4 separate regions of the Homo sapiens genome follow, and all the other regions are linked to region 2. Evidence: promoter capture Hi-C in 16 types of primary human blood cells and fetal thymus (Javierre and others, 2016). All regions are on one chromosome and are shown on one strand. Each heading gives the region's core, a stretch centred on a gene start or on the middle of the fragment in contact. The rest is flanking DNA. Distances are from core to core; before and after follow the strand shown. Region 1 holds the start of MBD2 (methyl-CpG binding domain protein 2). Region 2 holds the start of TXNL1 (thioredoxin like 1). Region 3 holds the start of LMAN1 (lectin, mannose binding 1). Region 4 holds the start of POLI (DNA polymerase iota).

The links. Contacts are between HindIII fragments. The CHiCAGO score rates a contact against its expected background, and 5 or more counts as called.
Region 1: the fragment with the promoter of MBD2 here is called in contact with a fragment that was not itself captured in region 2 in 14 of 17 cell types (total B cells, naive CD8 T cells, total CD4 T cells and 11 more); the score reaches 19.1 in total B cells.
Region 3: a contact is called between the fragment with the promoter of LMAN1 here and a fragment that was not itself captured in region 2, in 1 of 17 cell types (non-activated CD4 T cells). The highest score is 5.7, in non-activated CD4 T cells.
Region 4: the fragment with the promoter of POLI here is called in contact with a fragment that was not itself captured in region 2 in 3 of 17 cell types (activated CD4 T cells, fetal thymus and monocytes); the score reaches 6.4 in activated CD4 T cells.

What each region holds. Positions count from the first base shown.
Region 1 is chr18:54,221,590-54,226,044 of GRCh38, forward strand. MBD2 (methyl-CpG binding domain protein 2) reads right to left here and starts at 3,080. Exons shown (of 7, transcript NM_003927.5): 1 at 2,429-3,080. The coding sequence starts at 2,970. It overlaps SNORA37 (small nucleolar RNA, H/ACA box 37), which reads right to left and starts at 823; the gene lies at 695-823. RefSeq lists a silencer at 2,781-3,170 and an enhancer at 3,921-4,455. The HindIII fragment of the contact is 9,949 bases long and covers 1-3,446 here.
Region 2 is chr18:56,634,857-56,638,664 of GRCh38, forward strand. TXNL1 (thioredoxin like 1) reads right to left here and starts at 3,736. Exons shown (of 8, transcript NM_004786.3): 1 at 3,487-3,736. The coding sequence starts at 3,584. RefSeq lists enhancers at 2,788-3,773, 3,555-3,614, 3,774-3,808 and a silencer at 3,765-3,808. The HindIII fragment of the contact is 1,142 bases long and covers 1,949-3,090 here.
Region 3 is chr18:59,357,364-59,361,461 of GRCh38, forward strand. It overlaps LMAN1 (lectin, mannose binding 1), which reads right to left and starts at 1,902. Exons shown (of 13, transcript NM_005570.4): 1 at 1,668-1,902. The coding sequence starts at 1,881. RefSeq lists enhancers at 1,317-1,416, 1,427-1,476, 1,667-1,856 and a silencer at 1,887-2,186. The HindIII fragment of the contact is 14,570 bases long and covers 1-4,098 here.
Region 4 is chr18:54,267,314-54,271,246 of GRCh38, forward strand. POLI (DNA polymerase iota) reads left to right here and starts at 2,204. Exons shown (of 10, transcript NM_007195.3): 1 at 2,204-2,348. The coding sequence starts at 2,234. It overlaps LOC124904307 (a long non-coding RNA gene), which reads right to left and starts at 2,592. Exons shown (of 2, transcript XR_007066379.1): 1 at 2,513-2,592. RefSeq lists enhancers at 1,566-1,715, 1,976-2,105, 2,636-2,685 and a silencer at 2,316-2,565. The HindIII fragment of the contact is 5,901 bases long and covers 1-3,933 here.

The DNA.
Region 1 (4,455 bases), core at 1,830-4,329, 2.4 Mb before region 2:
TATGGTGAAACCCCATCTCTACTAAAAATACAAAAATTAGCCGGGCATGGTGGCAGGCACCTGTAGTCCCAGCTACTTGGGAGGCTGAAGAATCACTTGAACCCGAGAGGCGGAGGATGCACTGAGCCGAGATCGCACCACTGCACTCCAGCCTGGGCGACAGAGCTAGACTCCATCTCAAAAAAAATAAAATAAATTTAACATCAGAAAATTTACACAACATCCAAGAAAATGTTAAGTGGCCACAAATCCAAATGAGCACTACAACAATCTGACTTCTTGAAATAACTTTTCCAACTACAAGGAAAACCAACAAACAAAAAGCTCTGCAATACCCAAAGTCAGTCTGAACAAAAACATCATCCCAAAACCAAACAAACCATATCCCAGGAGAACTGCCACAGAGTAAAATTCAAAGTTTAAGATGTTCTACTGAGAATAGCCTAGTCATCTATTCCTCAAGGAGTTCAATCACAGATACAGAATAATCTTGTCAAATATAATTGCCTACAAGACATCAGCACATAGTTCACAGAAGGTTATGCAGACAGCCTGCTTAGAAAGAAAACAGAATGCTCTGTTAATGAAAGAATACTAGAAAACGAACAATTGTGAACGGCACTAAATGAAACTAATGAACTTGAGAAAACTAATCTTTTTTTAACCACAATAACCTTTTTTTTTAATCAGAAGAAATTGTCCCATTGAATGACAGCTGCCACTGGCACAGTCCCAGGGCAAGGATGCCAACAAAGGTTTTCTCTCAGCACCAGCTACCAAATCCTGGCCCCACAGCCTGAGGGAGGACCTGTGAAAGTGCTCACAATAACTTTCTTACCATTAAATCAAATATTTAATGATGAGGAAATACAAACCAAGACTATCACACTTTTTCTTTTTTTTCTTTAAAGAGATGGGGTTTCACTCTATTGCCCAGGCACAATCATAGGTCATTGCAGCCTCGAACTCCTGGACTCAAGAGATTCTCTCGCCCCAGCCCCGTAACTGGGACCACAGGTGATTACTACCTTCTTATGTTTAAAAGAAGTTCTCCATTTTATCATATGAGGTTTCAAGATGAGGGTCCAGATCAAGTGGAAGACTAAGTTCTATGAAACATCACTTTTATTTTTTAGTTGAGGTGAAGTGAACTTACTACAACTACTCATCCATATATAGCAACCATCAGGAATGTGTTCGTATTTACATGCTGCACCAGCAGTGATCACATTCTTGTGTGTGCATATGTATGTATATATGTGTATGTACATTTCTTTAACCTTTTCAATCTAGTTAAAAGTATTTTTAGTTCATAAGCATGGTATGTGTACAGACACATTTTCCCAGAGCTACTTGAAGAGGACAGGAAATCCTTTATAACATTATTACAATAGCTAAATGACAATTGTCTCCAATACCCATATACATTCCCTGAAAAATGCTTCAGTCAGTCCACAAACACGTACCTCCAAACTACTGAATACAAGTTTATATTATCTTCTATCAATAGCATGGCTTATTACAAAATTTAGTAAATGTGTATTAAGTCCACGGATGTCAATTGCCATAGGCACTTTCTTGAGCTTACTGGGTCACACAAACTGAAGACATCAGCAGCATGACCACGGGATTGCAAGATTACACTAAGGTGAAAAACCTTGAATCATTTAAAACAGGATGTCTCAACCTCAGCACAGGTGACAATTTGGGCCAGATCATTCTTTGTTGTGGCAGCTTTCCTTTGTATTATCGAATATGTAGCAGCATCTCTGGCCTCTACCCACTAGATGCCAGTATCACACCCTCCCCAGGTGTGAGAACCGAAAATGTCTCCAGACATTGACAAATGTTCCCTGGGGAGCAAATTTTGGTCTAGGAGTCTAAAAACTTAGTACAGTGTGTCAGTTTCAAAAGAGTATATTCTGCAATACCAAGAAGTTCCAAAAAAACTTCAGGCATTCCAAATAGCTGCTTTATACAAAACTTTCTTGGATGAAGTAAATGAAACCTTGTTACTGTAGATAGCTCATTCTTCCACATGTGCATGCTTAACACTTGTGATGATGAATCTGGGACAGGCTGGGACAGGAGCCAACAGTGACTGGGTTTTATAGTTTCGATGAATTACACCTCCTTTTAACCCTTCAGTGGACTAACCATCCCTGCCAGGCTAACCCTTTCTTCGCAAACCATCTTCCCCGACGCCTTCCACATAAGATGCCCTCCTGCGGGCCCTCACCTTTTGACACTGCCTCCCACCGCACTGGGGTCAACTCTCACCCAAGGGTTCCGCCACCTTCCACCACCAAACCAGCCTGTCCCTGCCACATGCCCCCCGGGCCCCAGCGCTCATCCTCTGCCCAGGCCCGCTCTTGACCCCTGACCCCGGCCTGACCCCGCCACCCCCTCCCCGCCCCCAGGGAGGTACCTGAAGTAGTAGACATCGCTCTTGCCAGCACTTAGCCCAGATTTTCGGATCACTTCCTCCTTCTTCCATCCGGGGGGGAGGGCCGGGCAATCCATCCTCTTCCCGCTCTCCGTGGCCCGGGGTCCCCTGGGCCCCGGCCCCGCGCTCCCCGACGGGAAAGGGACCGGCTCCCGCCGGGGGGCGCCGCCGCCACCGCTGCCGCCGCCGCCGCAGCCGCCGCCGTCGCCGCCAAGGCCGCTGCCGCCACTCGGGGGACGGCCGCGGCCCCGGCCCCGGCCCCGTCCCCGTCCCCGGCCACGGCCCCGGCCCCGGCCACGGCCACAGACGCCGCCGCCCCGGCCCGCCTGCTTCCACCGCCCCCGGCCACGGCCGCCGCCCCGAGCGCCTTCCCTGCGCACGCCGCTCACCGGGGACGGGGCGAGCGCGCTGCCCTGGCCCCCCTGCTCTATGGCGGAGTCGCCGCCAGCGCCGCTGCCGCCCGCCGCACTCTCCCCCTCCTCCTGCTCCGGGCAGCAGCGGCCTCCCCCCGGGTGCGCGCGCATCCAGCCCCCTCCCCAGCCGGCGCTGCGCTTCTTCCGTAACCGAGCCCTTGGAATCCCGGAGACCCGCCCCGCCCGCAGCGCGGCGCGCGGGGGACGCGCGCAAGCATCATAGAGCGGGCGCGCACAGAGCGGCCCTCCTGCCCGGGGCGTGGCCCCGGCCACCGCCTCTTAGGTCCTCCAAGCGCTATGGGCGGCCATCTTGTCTCCGCCTTCTCGGGGCCACGCCCCCTCCCGCGCTTTTCCGGCCCCCACTGGGCGCGCGGAGCTGGGAAGGTTGGTCGGGCTAGCCACCAGCTGGGGGTGTCATAGTGACTGTGGTTAGTTTGTTTCAAACGGGGTAACCTCCACCATTATGTGATTTTACCTATGTTTGCTTCCCAATTAATGAATAACAAGCAAAATAGATCTTATATTACATACCAACTCGGCTATTCATTTAAGGGGGTGATAGCCCCTTTTCCCGCCCCTCTGCACAAAGCTTGCAGGGGAGCTTATAATGAAGGAATGAAGCAAAGTGTCCCATTCGCTGAATACCAGTTCCCTCCTGAGCCTGGCTTCAGAGCCATTGACAGATTCTCCTGGAACCTTGTAAGGATGTAGGAAAGGAAATGATAACTTGGAATATGCCCATGAGTCAGATGGGGCTTACCTCTAGATTCTCCTTAGAATGACCAGAATCCCTAAATCCATCTAGAAATTTCCAGATGTCTTTGTCTAATACAAAAATCAGTGGCCTTTTATTTGGTAAATATTCCATTATGTTGAAAGTCCAGCCTAACTTACTGTCACAAGCCTTTAGGAAACTGTGTGGTATTCTTTTCGGTCTGCCAACTTGAATTTTAGAAATGCATATTTTCTATAAGTTGTCGAACACTTATAGAAGTGTGCTATTGATATTCAAGATAATATATTATGAAATATTTGGAAGATTGAAAAATGTAAAGCACATGTTATCAGCCTGATGATAAGCTATCTTGGGTTTCTATACTCATATGCCCTAAAAACTGAGGACCAAGTTTAACGTATAGAAAAAGTTGATTAATATAAAGCAACAAAAATCTAAAATTAATTTGGTTTATCTTTGCAGTATATGCAAACATTAACTCATACACACAAACTTGTCTGTCTCTAAACCTGACCTTAGTCTTCTTTTAATGTCCTTTAGTTGAAAGACACTAATTTGTGGTTTCCTACAAGAAATTTAGAAATGTGAATGTAAAAAATCATCAAGAAATGAGTTCTGAGGAGATCAGTACTGGAGACATTCATTTAGAAGTCATCTGTGGGCCGGGCGCGGTGGCTCACGCCTGTAATCCCAACACTTTGGGAGGCAGAGGCGGGCAGATCACCTGAGGTCAGGAGTTCAAGACCAGCCTGGCTAACACGATGAAACTCCGTCTCTACTAAAAATGCAGAAAATTGGCTGGGCGTGGTGGCGGGCGCCCGTAGTCCCAGCTGCTCCGGAGGCTGAGGCAGGAGAATGGC
Region 2 (3,808 bases), core at 1,270-3,769:
AAAAAGACAACCCAAAGAATGGGACAAAGTATTTGCAAATTAAATATTAACATCCGGCATATATAAAGAACTCCTGCAACTCAACCCAAAAACAAACCACTCAATTCAAAAATGGGCACAGAAGGCCCAGCGCAGTGACTCACACCTGTAACCCCAGCAATTTGGGATGCTGACGTGGGAGGGTCGCTTGAAGCCAGGATTTAGACCAGCCTGGGCAACAAAGTGAGACTTAGTCTCTAAAACAAAAAATAAATTAGCGGGCATGGTGGTATGTGTCTGTAGTCCCATTTACTTGAGAGGCTGATGTGGGAGGATTGCTTGAGGCCAGGAATTCAATGCTGCAGTGAGCCATCGTCTCAAAACTGCACTCCAGCCTGGGCAACAGAGCAAGACCCTGTCTCTAACAAATAAGAAAAAAGAAAAGCAAGCAAGTAAGCAGGGATCCCCGCATAGCAATGTCCCCTAGCAGCATTATCCACAACAGCCAAAGGAAGACACAACTGGAATGTCCATCAAAAAATGAACAGGTATACAAAATTTGCCATATAAATAAATGGATTATGTTATGCAGTTATAAAGAAGAATGAAATTCTGAGACATACTAAGACATGGATGAACCTTGAAAATACTATGCTAAGTGAAGTCAAAAACAAAAGGACAAATATTGTTACGATTTCACTTATATTAGGTGCCACAAATTGACAAATTCATAGAGACAGAAAGCAGAATAGAAGTTACCAAGGAGGTAGATGGGGAGGGGCAAATTACTGCTTAATGGGTACAGTTTTGTCCCTTTGGAGAAGTAAGGATGGGGAGTTATCCTTTAATGGATATAGAATTTCTGTCTAAAGTTATAGGAAACAGTGGTGATGGTGGCACAACATTGTGACTGTATAGTCATGTCTGGGTATCTGGGGGATTAGTTTCAGGACCTCCAGCAAGACACTAAATCACAGATGCTCAAGGGCCTAATAGAAAATGACATGGTATCTGCACATAACCTACGACCATTCTCCCATATACTTTAAATCATCTCTAGATTACTTATAATGCCTAAGGTAAATGCTATGTAAATAGTTGTTATACTGTATTGTTTAGAAAATAATGACAAGAAAAAAGTGTGTACATGATCAGCACAAATGCAATTTTTTTTCTCCAAATATTTTCTATCCACATTTGGTTCAATCCATGGATACAGAGGGCTGACTGTCCTTAATGCCAATGAATTATACTCTTACAAATGGCTAAATGGTCAATTTTATGTTATATATATTTTATCATAAGCCACTAAAGATTCTTACACAGGAGAACAATCTATGTATCATTTTAGTAAAATTTAGACTGAGAGTGCATAAAGCATAGAGGTTAAAAAAAAAGAAAAAAGGTTTAAAATAGGGTTGGAAAGGAAATGAAATAGGTGCTGGAGAAACTATGCCCTCAGTCTAAACTGGGACAGCATTAACTTTGATCTAAGAGGATTCTTACAAGATTTTACTGAATACAGTTGTTTCTGAGTCTAATACTGACCCGTCATATACATAATTCTGGGGTTCTATTGACAATGAGTTTAGACAGGATGTATTAATGGCCAATAAGTTCGAGGAATATTAAAGGTAAATACAATAATCTTACCAGATTTGTAAACGTAATATAAATATGCTTTTGAACTTACTCTAAATCCAAACATTAATTTTCCCTCGGTTTTTACAAAGAAAAAAAATTTTAATTCCACTAAAATACCTTTTTAAATGTAACAGTTCCTTACCAATCAATGTCTGCAGTTATGCTTATGCTTAAGTGACACCACACTGATAGAAAAAACCTTCCTTCGCAGCAATGTTTCCCCAGTTTTCTCACTTCAATCAATATTTATTTATTATTTTATTATCTCTCCCACTGCTATGGTAAGGGAGAAAAACAATATATCATTGAGGGACAAAAATATAAAAGCTTCGACGGGCCAGAATTAGAATAAGTGAACTAAAAGTGAGGTGAGGTTCCTTATTGAAATCCTATCTTCCCTTTTCTACTGTGGCCTAGATACTTAATGTACTACAGGTATTCCCCTATTATTAAGAATACAGACATCACAAAATTGCTAAAAATGAGAAGACACATTTATAGAATTCTAACATTCCTTTTAGGTGTTTTATATATATGACATCACTTATCCTTTTAAATTTAGTAAATGCAAAATTCCGTATATCATATGGGTACTCTAGCCCACCATATGAAATGCAAGGTACTATCCTTTTTCAATTCAGTGTAAGAGAGACTGGTCCAAAAATAAGTCTTAACTTGTTTTCATATCTATCTGCATCCATTCCCTAAAACGATATAATCCTAATGCCACCATTTATATACTCAACATTTAGTGAACCATCTAGTAGAAACTTTGTTTTTTGCTCTGAAATTCAAAATGGAATTTTGTGTTTATACAGTTATTTGGACAAGAAAGTGTGTTACATAAACAGTGATACCAGCAGTAGACTGCTCCAAGTTAGATGTATAAATAACGCCAAGGGGTCAAGGAAAATAAAGCGGAAACCTCTCATACTTCTAACTAAATACTATCGACATACACAAGGAGAGATCTGTGAAACACACACACACGCTGAAATCTTGGTTCTCAACGCCGAGTTCCAACATGTCATTCTTACAAAGGAACTTTACTACACATCCACTATAAAAGGTCCACCTTTTCTACGACCTATAATTTTGTTGATATTTACCAAAGACAGTTAACATTTTTCAAGATCCCTGTCCTCTTAAGTGAAAAAACAGAGCCGGGTCAAACTAAGACATCCGGCCAACTGTCCACCTGAAATATATTATATATGTACTGTCGTGTGTGACCAGTTGCAATCGCATACATAGGGGAGCCTAAGCTACAAGTTAGTGGCCGAACGAGGAAGAAAAAAGTTCAAATAATTTAAAAAGCACCCTAACCCAACGTTAACTTAGTTCGAAATGCATTAGCAGAAATTCAGGACTCAGAGCTACGCATATTAGTTAGATCGCCCCATCTGAATCTTCAAAGGCTTTAGAGAGATGTAGGTGGTGAAGAGAAACAAAGTGTTCGGTAAATTAAGCTTTTGGAGCTCTGGAGATGCAAATGACAGCTGGCTCTGCAGAAAGAAGGGGTCAGGCTCAGGCAAGGGTGGCTGCGGAGACTCCCACAGGCTGGAAGGAATAGGGGCGGGCCACCCCCAAAACCAGTTTGTCAAAGAATTGAAAAGGAGCAGGTGAGAAATCTCCTGAGCTGGAGAAGCCGGCCAGCCAGGCCCCCGAGCCCGTCTAGGAACCCCTGTGCATAAATGGGGGTTCACACCCGAGAAACGAGGCCTAATTCCGGCAGCTCCTGGGGCTGCGGCGACTGCCGGACACTCCGGGGCAGCAGACGGCTAGGAAACCAGGGCCAACAAAGAGTGAAAGGAAAGCAAGGAAGGACAGACGGGGACCCACAGAGCTCGAGCCTGGCCTCACCCTCTCATGGTGAACTTGACCACGGCGAGTCTGGAGCCCGCGCCGCTCAGCTCTGGCTGGAAATCCGGGTCGCTCCCGACGGGCTTCACCCCCACCATCCTCACAGAGAGCCCGGCAGGGTGGCCGCGACGCCACTGGCTTTGAAACTGAAGGAGAAGACGATCTGGGAGAGGAAGGAGAGATGCTCAGGAAGGCCGAGGCCTGGACAGAAGAGGTGGCGACCGCCGAGTCTTCTCCCGGGACTCTCAGTGCCGAGTCACGCCAGGGAGCGGAGCGGCCGAGGGGGCGGGGAGGGATGGGGGAGGGGAGAGGAGGAGGATGG
Region 3 (4,098 bases), core at 652-3,151, 2.7 Mb after region 2:
TGTGAGAAAAAGAGAAAAGGGATAGAAGAACAGGCAGGCAGTGGAGAGGTGTAGAAGTGAAAATGTGTGAACAAATCCATCACTACTGAATAATTCATCATCCCACAAATAGAAACAAAAACTCCAAAAACTTGTGTTTGATATCATTTGCATCACCTTTGTGTATCAAGAATAGAGATACCTTGATAACAAATGCCCAGTAATATACCCTTGCTGCATGGGCACATAATAAATGACTGCTGAGTAACGAAATAACTGCACTCTACTTCAACTACTTAATGACTTGGTCATTAAGTCAAATTAAAATCTATACCTTTCAATTACACATTAATTTGAGAGAAATAGCGCTTCCTAAAAGGGTGCTTCCTATTCAGTAATTACTTTCTAGAAATGAAACATTTTGTTTCAAGAACTGGATAATCTAAAGTGATGTATAAAAACCTTATATAAAAGATTACTTATGGGGGAGGTGGGAGGGATAGCATTAGGAGATATACCTAATGTTAAATGACTAGTTAATGGGTGCAGCACACCAACATGGCAAATGTATACATACTAACCAACCTGCACGTTGTGCACATGTACCCTAAACCTTATAGTAAAAAAAAAAAAAAAAAAAAAGATTAATCACACACAAAGATAGAATTCAAACTGCCAGAGCTCCTCATCTCATATAAAGGCATTTGCCACTTGTTCAACGGGTATATCTGATGGTCACTGAACAGAGCTTATGTCATGCCAAGTGCTACGATTGACTCCTTAGTCAGCAGTGACACATCAGCACTAAAAAGTGCAGATATGTTTTCTTTCACGTAAGTAAATGCTCTAGCAAGGCTCTCTTATCTACAAAAGTGCCAAACACAGAGAGTGAATAAAATATGAACCCAAGATTATTTCAATGCTTCCAATTTTTTTAAAGGGCTAAAAATGTAATGCTATTCTTAGTCTCAGGTTCAGAAACAATCAATCCCTAAAAATATATCCCTTCTCCTAAAAAGTTACATAATGTGTTACTACGAGAGAAAAGATCAAAGACCACACCAAGTCACTGAGAGGAAAATGTGTAGTTCCAACAGTATAAGAATGTCTTCTGACATACAAAGACTTAAAAAATTACTCTAATACTACTATATGCCATCTCAGGAGCCGTCAGTGGGCATGGGGTTCAAGCGAAGCATTAACCATTGCTAACACCGGAGCAAAGAAATCGGGGATCGGGGGTGGGGGGTGGAAGCGGGAAAGGAAGTAAGGGGGCTTCTAGAACATGTCTCAGGTTGGGATGGCTGGGGGTAGGGCACATTTCTCCTAGAGACGTGGCGTTGTGAAACATGATACCTAGAAGCAAGTTTGAGTGCTAGGAAGTGTAGGAGGTAACCAAACACCTCTAGATCCAACGGAAAGTACCGACGAGATCAAAGAAGGGAAGACAGCAGGCGGGTGAGAGAGAACAGAATGGGTGAGGGAAAGACTCGGGGACAAGCGGAGGGAACCGTGCGAACCAGGAGGGACCCGGCGGAGGGGCTGCCAGGAGGGTCCCCTCCACAGCGCATATGGTGTGCAGCTGCTGGAACGGGAACCTCAGCACACCAGGGTAGCCGCGGATGAAAGGCGAAGAGGCAGCAGAAGGGGGAGAGGAACCCGGCCCCCAGCCCTCTGCTCCGGCTTACTCCCCGCGTGGGCCCAGAAGGGCACGGTCCCGTCGCTCTGCACCAGGTGCGGCCCCTTGAAGCTGTATTTGTACTCGAAACGGCGATGTGGCAACGCGACCGCGGGGTCTCCTCCCACGCCGTCGCCCCGGACGAAGCGACCGAGTGACAGCAGCAAGGCGCAGAACAGCGGCCGAACTCTGGCCCGGAGACCCCTTTGCCTGGATCCCGCCATCTTGGATTCTGGAACGCGGAGGAGGGCGGGAGAGGGAGGGGCGCGGATGGCTGCGGATGGCCAACAGGGCGCTCGCTGATTGGCAGAGCCCGGGGGACCCCCAAGGGCAAGGGGTGAGCCCCGCCCCCGGCCTCCGCTTTCCGCGCGGCCGCACGGCCAGGAGCAGCTGTGGGCGGGGCCACGCGCAGGGGGCGGGTCTGGGGCGGTGCGGTCCTTCGGCCCCGCCCACCCTCCGGGGGTGGGGAAAGGACTCCAACCTTCGCTTCCCGCGCGGCAGAGTGCGGGAAGCGCCGATGGGTCCTTACCTGCAGGGAGCTTTCTCCGGCTTCTTAGAATACCTGGGAGCAGGAATTGGCTAGCCCTAAGACCTCTGGACCCAGCCTGTACAAAACCTTTTTAGTATATTAGAAGAAAGGTGTTCCTTTTGATGTGACATCAGTTTTTCAGTGGCACAATCCCGAATGCTTATGGTCCCAGCCCACTGAGCTCTACCAAGCTATGTTAGAGCGTTGCAAACTAGAAACCAGCACCCACGGGGTTGTAGGATGCCTTAGGATTTATAAGTTGGTGTCGGAAAGAGGGTTTCTGTGAATTTGTCAGCCAGCCTTTACATCTCAAAATTTAATTCCAAGAGCTTTCCAAATTTTGAAACCATGGCAAGAGTGCATTCAAATGAAACTGACTTTGGTTTGGTTTGGTTTTGGTGAGAGGGATAATGTGCTATGGACCCAGGCGTCTGTAGAACCTGGACATTTGATATAGGATCGGTCTTCCACTCAATGAATACGTTCTATATTTTAAAGGGGACTCCTCTTTCCCTTGCTTAGGAAAAAATATCGTCAAAATATTCATGGTAATCCAAAGTTTTGTTTTTTCAAAAATGTGTCATGATGAGTTTTTCAAGTCCAAGAAACAGCAGTATGATTTATATTGTTTTTACACATGGCTTTTTATTAGCTCTGTTCGTGTGGGCTACATGAACGCCACACTAGCCCTAGGGACTCAATACCCGCATTACTTAAACTTATTTTTCATTAACTTCCCAGTTTTGGAAGTTGAATCCCATCTTCGGATTCATGGGCCATTACTGTTAAATCTCTTTCTAGTGCTCAAATAAAACCTTCAAGTTGAATATGGATTTAAGGCTTTCCGCCTGCTAGTCTCGAGATGTAATTTAAATGAAAGTACCATACTTACTGCTATCTCAGCAGCAGCAGTAACAAACATTTATCCACTGTATGGTGTATGTGCGTCATTGCCCTGGACTCTCCATGGTTTTCAACCCATAGGATTTAATCATTTTATTTTCTTTGGTTCTCTCATTGCTCTGGCAACCAGCTCTATGCCTTGCACAGAGTGAAGATTCCATAAATATTTGTTAAACAAACATTAATGTTATAAAAATGGCAAACACTTACTGAGTGCTTTCTGTGTGTAACTGCACTAAGCCTTCAACATATGTTAACTTATTGAATGCTGACAGCAGCCCTCTAAGGTAGATGCCATTAATATTTCCATTTACAGATGAGGAAACAGAAGCATAGATTAAATAATTTGCCCAATGTCACACAGTAAGTGGCAGAGGTAGGTTTCAATTCCAGCCATTCTATCATTGAAGCCTTCAATCTTAAGAACCGTTTTATGTTAAACATTATGTATATTAAGTATTTTCAATTCATTACGCATGATTTGAACTCATGAGGGACCTGAATTTCAAGCATAATACAAGTAAATATTTGTAATTTTGCTGAACCATAAATGTAAATCTTTATGTTCTGTGAAGCTGTTTCTTAAAAAAAAAACTGTTTTATTGAAGCATATTATATAGAGAAAATTATGCCAGCCTTAAGAATGTAACTCAATGAATTTTTCCCAAAATGAATACCTCCCATGCAACCAGCATCCAGATTTTTTTTTTAAAAAACACACATTTCTAGAGTTAATGGGTGCAGCACACCAACATGGCACATGTATACATATGTAACAAACCTGCACGTTGTGCACATGTACCCTAGAACTTAAAGTATAATAAAAAAAAATTTCTACTGGGTATGTAACTAGGAGTAGAGTTGCTGGGTCATAGTAGATCCTGCCAAATTTTCAGAGTGGTTGTGCTAATTTACACTGCCATCAGCAGTATGTGAGGGCTTCAGCTGTCTGACTTTTTTTGTTAGCTTGTAGAAACTCTTTATTCTGAATACCTGTCTCTGCTTGGAT
Region 4 (3,933 bases), core at 954-3,453, 2.4 Mb before region 2:
GGAGTTGGAAACCAGCCTGGCCAACATGGTGAAACCCTGTCTCTACTGAAAATACAAAAATTAGCTGGGTATGGTGGCACACGCCTGTAATCACAGCTACTCAGGTGGCTGAGGCAGGAGAATTGTTTGAACCCAGGAGGCAGAGGTTGCAGTGAGCCCAGATCGCACCACTGCACTCCAACCTGGGAGACAGACTGAGACTCTGTCTCAAAATAAATAAATAAATAACTAAATAAAATGAAAAACCACCAAACAACTATCTAGACTTATCAAACAGCTTTCACAAAGATAGCAGCCTAGCTCTCTGAACAGGTAATTTATAACCTAGATAGCAGACTTTGAAAGAACTGGTCCAGACATCTAAGAATTAAATATGCAAAGAGGAAGATTTTGTTTCCAAACCACTGAGACCCAGCTCTGCTTGTTATTCCCTTTTCTTCATGGATGCATCAACATATCCTTTAAAGCAGGGGTCCCCAGTCCCCAGGCCATGGACCAGAACCAGTCCCTGGCCTGTTAAGAACCATGCCGCATAGCAGGAGGTGAGTAGCGGGCCCGGGAGTGCAGCTTCATCTGTATTCACAGCCACTCTCCACTACTGGCATGACTGCCTGAGCACTGCTTCTTGTCAGATCAGCAGCGGCATTAGATTCTCACAGGAGCCTGAACGCTACTGTGAACTCGCATGCGAGGGATCTAGGTTGCATGCTTCTTATGAGAATCTAATGCCTGATGATCTATCACTATCTCCCATCACCCCAGATGGGACAGTCTAGTTGCAGGAAAACACGCTCAGGGCTCCCACTGATTCTACCTCATTATCTATTAAAATGTAATAATAATAGAAATAAAGTGCACAACAAATGTAACGCACTTGGATCATCCCAAAACCATCCCCCTCCCTTCTGTCTGTGGAAAAATTGTCTTCCATGAAACCAGCCCCTGGTGCCAAAAAGGTTGGGAATGGCTGCTTTAAAGGGTTTCTCAAGGTTCTAATATTTTATTTGATAAGAAGTAGAATCATATAAAAAACCAAACATATGTGTTAATTTGGGTATTTATACAGATATAGTGTATATACATACATACAGGCATGGAGGAATTTCCAAATTTCCTCTATTGTAAAACATACACATACACACACCAACACACACATGCACACATGGTATCCTAATAGAAGGCAAGGAGAATAGACATTTACTGAGCACTTCCTATGTGCCACATGTTTTATATACATTAGGATATTACAGTATATGGTAGCTTTTATCCATTCATTCAATCTCAATACTTTTTTTTTTTTTTAAGAGTAGAGCAACTGAGGCTCACAGCAGTTATGTAACCTGCCCAAAGTCACACAGCATGATGGAGGGTCTGGATTGGAGATTTTGTCTGACTACAACACTCATGTATCAAATCCTATTCAGTTTTGATGTTAAAAATTCTGTGGTTGAATTCGTCACAGTGTCTTTAAATAAAACAACAACAAACAAAACACAGCAAACCTTAACATAGTTGCTAATCATATGAGTTTACAAGGCCACCTGTGTCTTTACTATCAGTTACACTCCTTCCCACCCCATCACATTAATCACTCAGGTCTAGGGATTTGCAAGTTTGCTAACAGCCGAATGGAACAAAGACAAAACGCTAAAATTTGTGATGTGGGCCTAACTCCAAAGCCTTCAAGAAAAAAAAAAAAAGGCCAGGCGCAGTGGCTCATGCCTGTGATCTCAACACTTTGGGAGGCCTAGGAGGGTGGATCACCTGAGGACAGGAGTTCGAAACCAGCCTGACCAACATGGTGAAACCTCGTCTCTACTAAATACAAAAAAATTAGCTGGGCGTGATGGCGCATGCCTGTTAATCCCAGCTACTTGGGAGGCTGAGGCAGGAGAATCGCTTGAATCCGGGAGGCAGAGGTTGCAGTGAGCCGGTATTGCGTCACTGTTGCCCACTCCAGCCTGAGCAACAAGAACGAAACTCCGTCTCAAAAAAAAAAAAAATAGCCATTTGTGCTTTCAATCTCTCCGCTTCCGGCCTCCACCCGGCGGGAAAAAACTCCCGCACGTGGGCCTCCACGATTCCTTGGCATGCGTGTCACTCTGGGCAACAGGCTGGTCGGCCACGACTGCGCAGGCGAGAGGCACAGAGCGACTGGAGACTGTAGTCCCCCGGTTTCCCTGGAGACCAGGCGGAAGCGGCCGGAAGTAGCGCTGCGGTTGGCAGCGGCGGGATGGAGAAGCTGGGGGTGGAGCCGGAGGAGGAAGGCGGCGGCGACGACGACGAGGAAGACGCCGAGGCCTGGGCCATGGAACTGGCGGACGTGGGGGCGGCAGCCAGCTCGCAGGGTGCGCCGCAGCCAGAGGAGCCAGCGGCCTCCTTGGGTGTAAATGAGAAGGGTGGGGCAGGCGGACGCTCGGGGCGGCGGCCACTGGGGCGCGACCGTCCCCGCCCCACTCGGCTCCTCTAAGAGAGGGCTGCCTCCCTCTGCCTTGTGTTACGCGGCGGGTACCTCTAGAGGAATGGCTTCACCCAGCAGGAGTAGGGTGGGGCGCGTCCACACTACAAATACGTGTCGAGGGTTTATCTGCGCCGTCCTTTCCTCTGTGAGGGGCGAGGTGGGGCGGGAATCCCTCAGCCAGCCCGACGAAAACTGCAGAGGCTTCTGGGCCTTTTAACTTTGGAGAAGTTGAGGACCTTGTCGCTCATTTGGCAGAAGGTGGGACCCGGATCTCAGTCCTGGCAGGAAGGGATGGCTCAGAACCTAGGCGGAGTCAGGTCCGCTGTGGTCACGTCTCCGGTGACCCACTTCCAGCTCTGGTCTTTACCTTGTACCGCCCACCTCAGGGCCTGGATGTAAAGGCACCGGTTCTCATTTCCTGCTGGTTTTGTTTCATTCATTAATTTAGAGACAAGGTCTCCCTGCAGCCTCGAACCCCTGGGCTCAAGTGATCCTCCGCCCCAGCCTCTCCGTCCCGAGTAGCTGGGACAGCAGGCACGTGCCACCACACCTGGCTGATTTTCAGATTTTTTTAGATCAGGTGTAGCTGTGTTGTCCAGGCTGGTCTCAAACTCCAGCCACAAGCGATCCTTCCACCTCAGCTTCGAAAAGTATTGGGATTACAGTAGTTAGCCATCGTGCCTGGCCTTTTAAATTTTGGAACTTTAGGTTTACCTGAAAGTTGCAGAGCTAGATCCCCCTAGTGTTAACATAAACTCAGTACATTTGTCAAAACTAGGAAATTAACATTGGTATAATACTATTAATTGAACTACACGCTTTATTAATATTCTACCAGTTTTTCTGCTAACGTTCATTTTCTGTTCCAGGATCCCAACCAGAATATTGTATTGTATTTTGCCTGTCTTGTTTTTAGCCAGTGTTGAGAGAAGGAGTCGCCTCTGTCATTCCCTCCCCGACAAATAATGACCTAACAACTTTTTAAAATCAAAGAACTATTCAGTCTTTCAATTTAGTGAATATTTATTGGTGGTCTGTTATGTCCTAGACACTGTTTTAGGCACTGGCGATTTAGCATTAAACCAGATAATCCTGCTGCCATGGGAGCTAAAAATAGCCCACACTTGTACCCACTGGTTGTCTTTTGCCATTTTGTATTTCAGTTTTTGTTGGTTTGTTTGTTTTAAATGTAAGGGCATGCTGCTTAGAATAATTTTCAAGCTGTGTGAAAATCAACGTCATTTCAACTTTTCTGCCCCTTCTGGTTTACACTAAGAGCTACTATAAACTTCCAGGTGATAGTATTAGCTCTTTCATCATCCATTATTTATCACATTTTTTCCCTTCAAACTTATTACTATCCTGAGAAAAACGCAGTGCACAAACAGTAATTAAGAGGACTGAAGACCCTACCCTAAGTGGAGTTTCATGTCTTTGTAATTTTTCGATGCTTTCACACATAATCCAGGAGA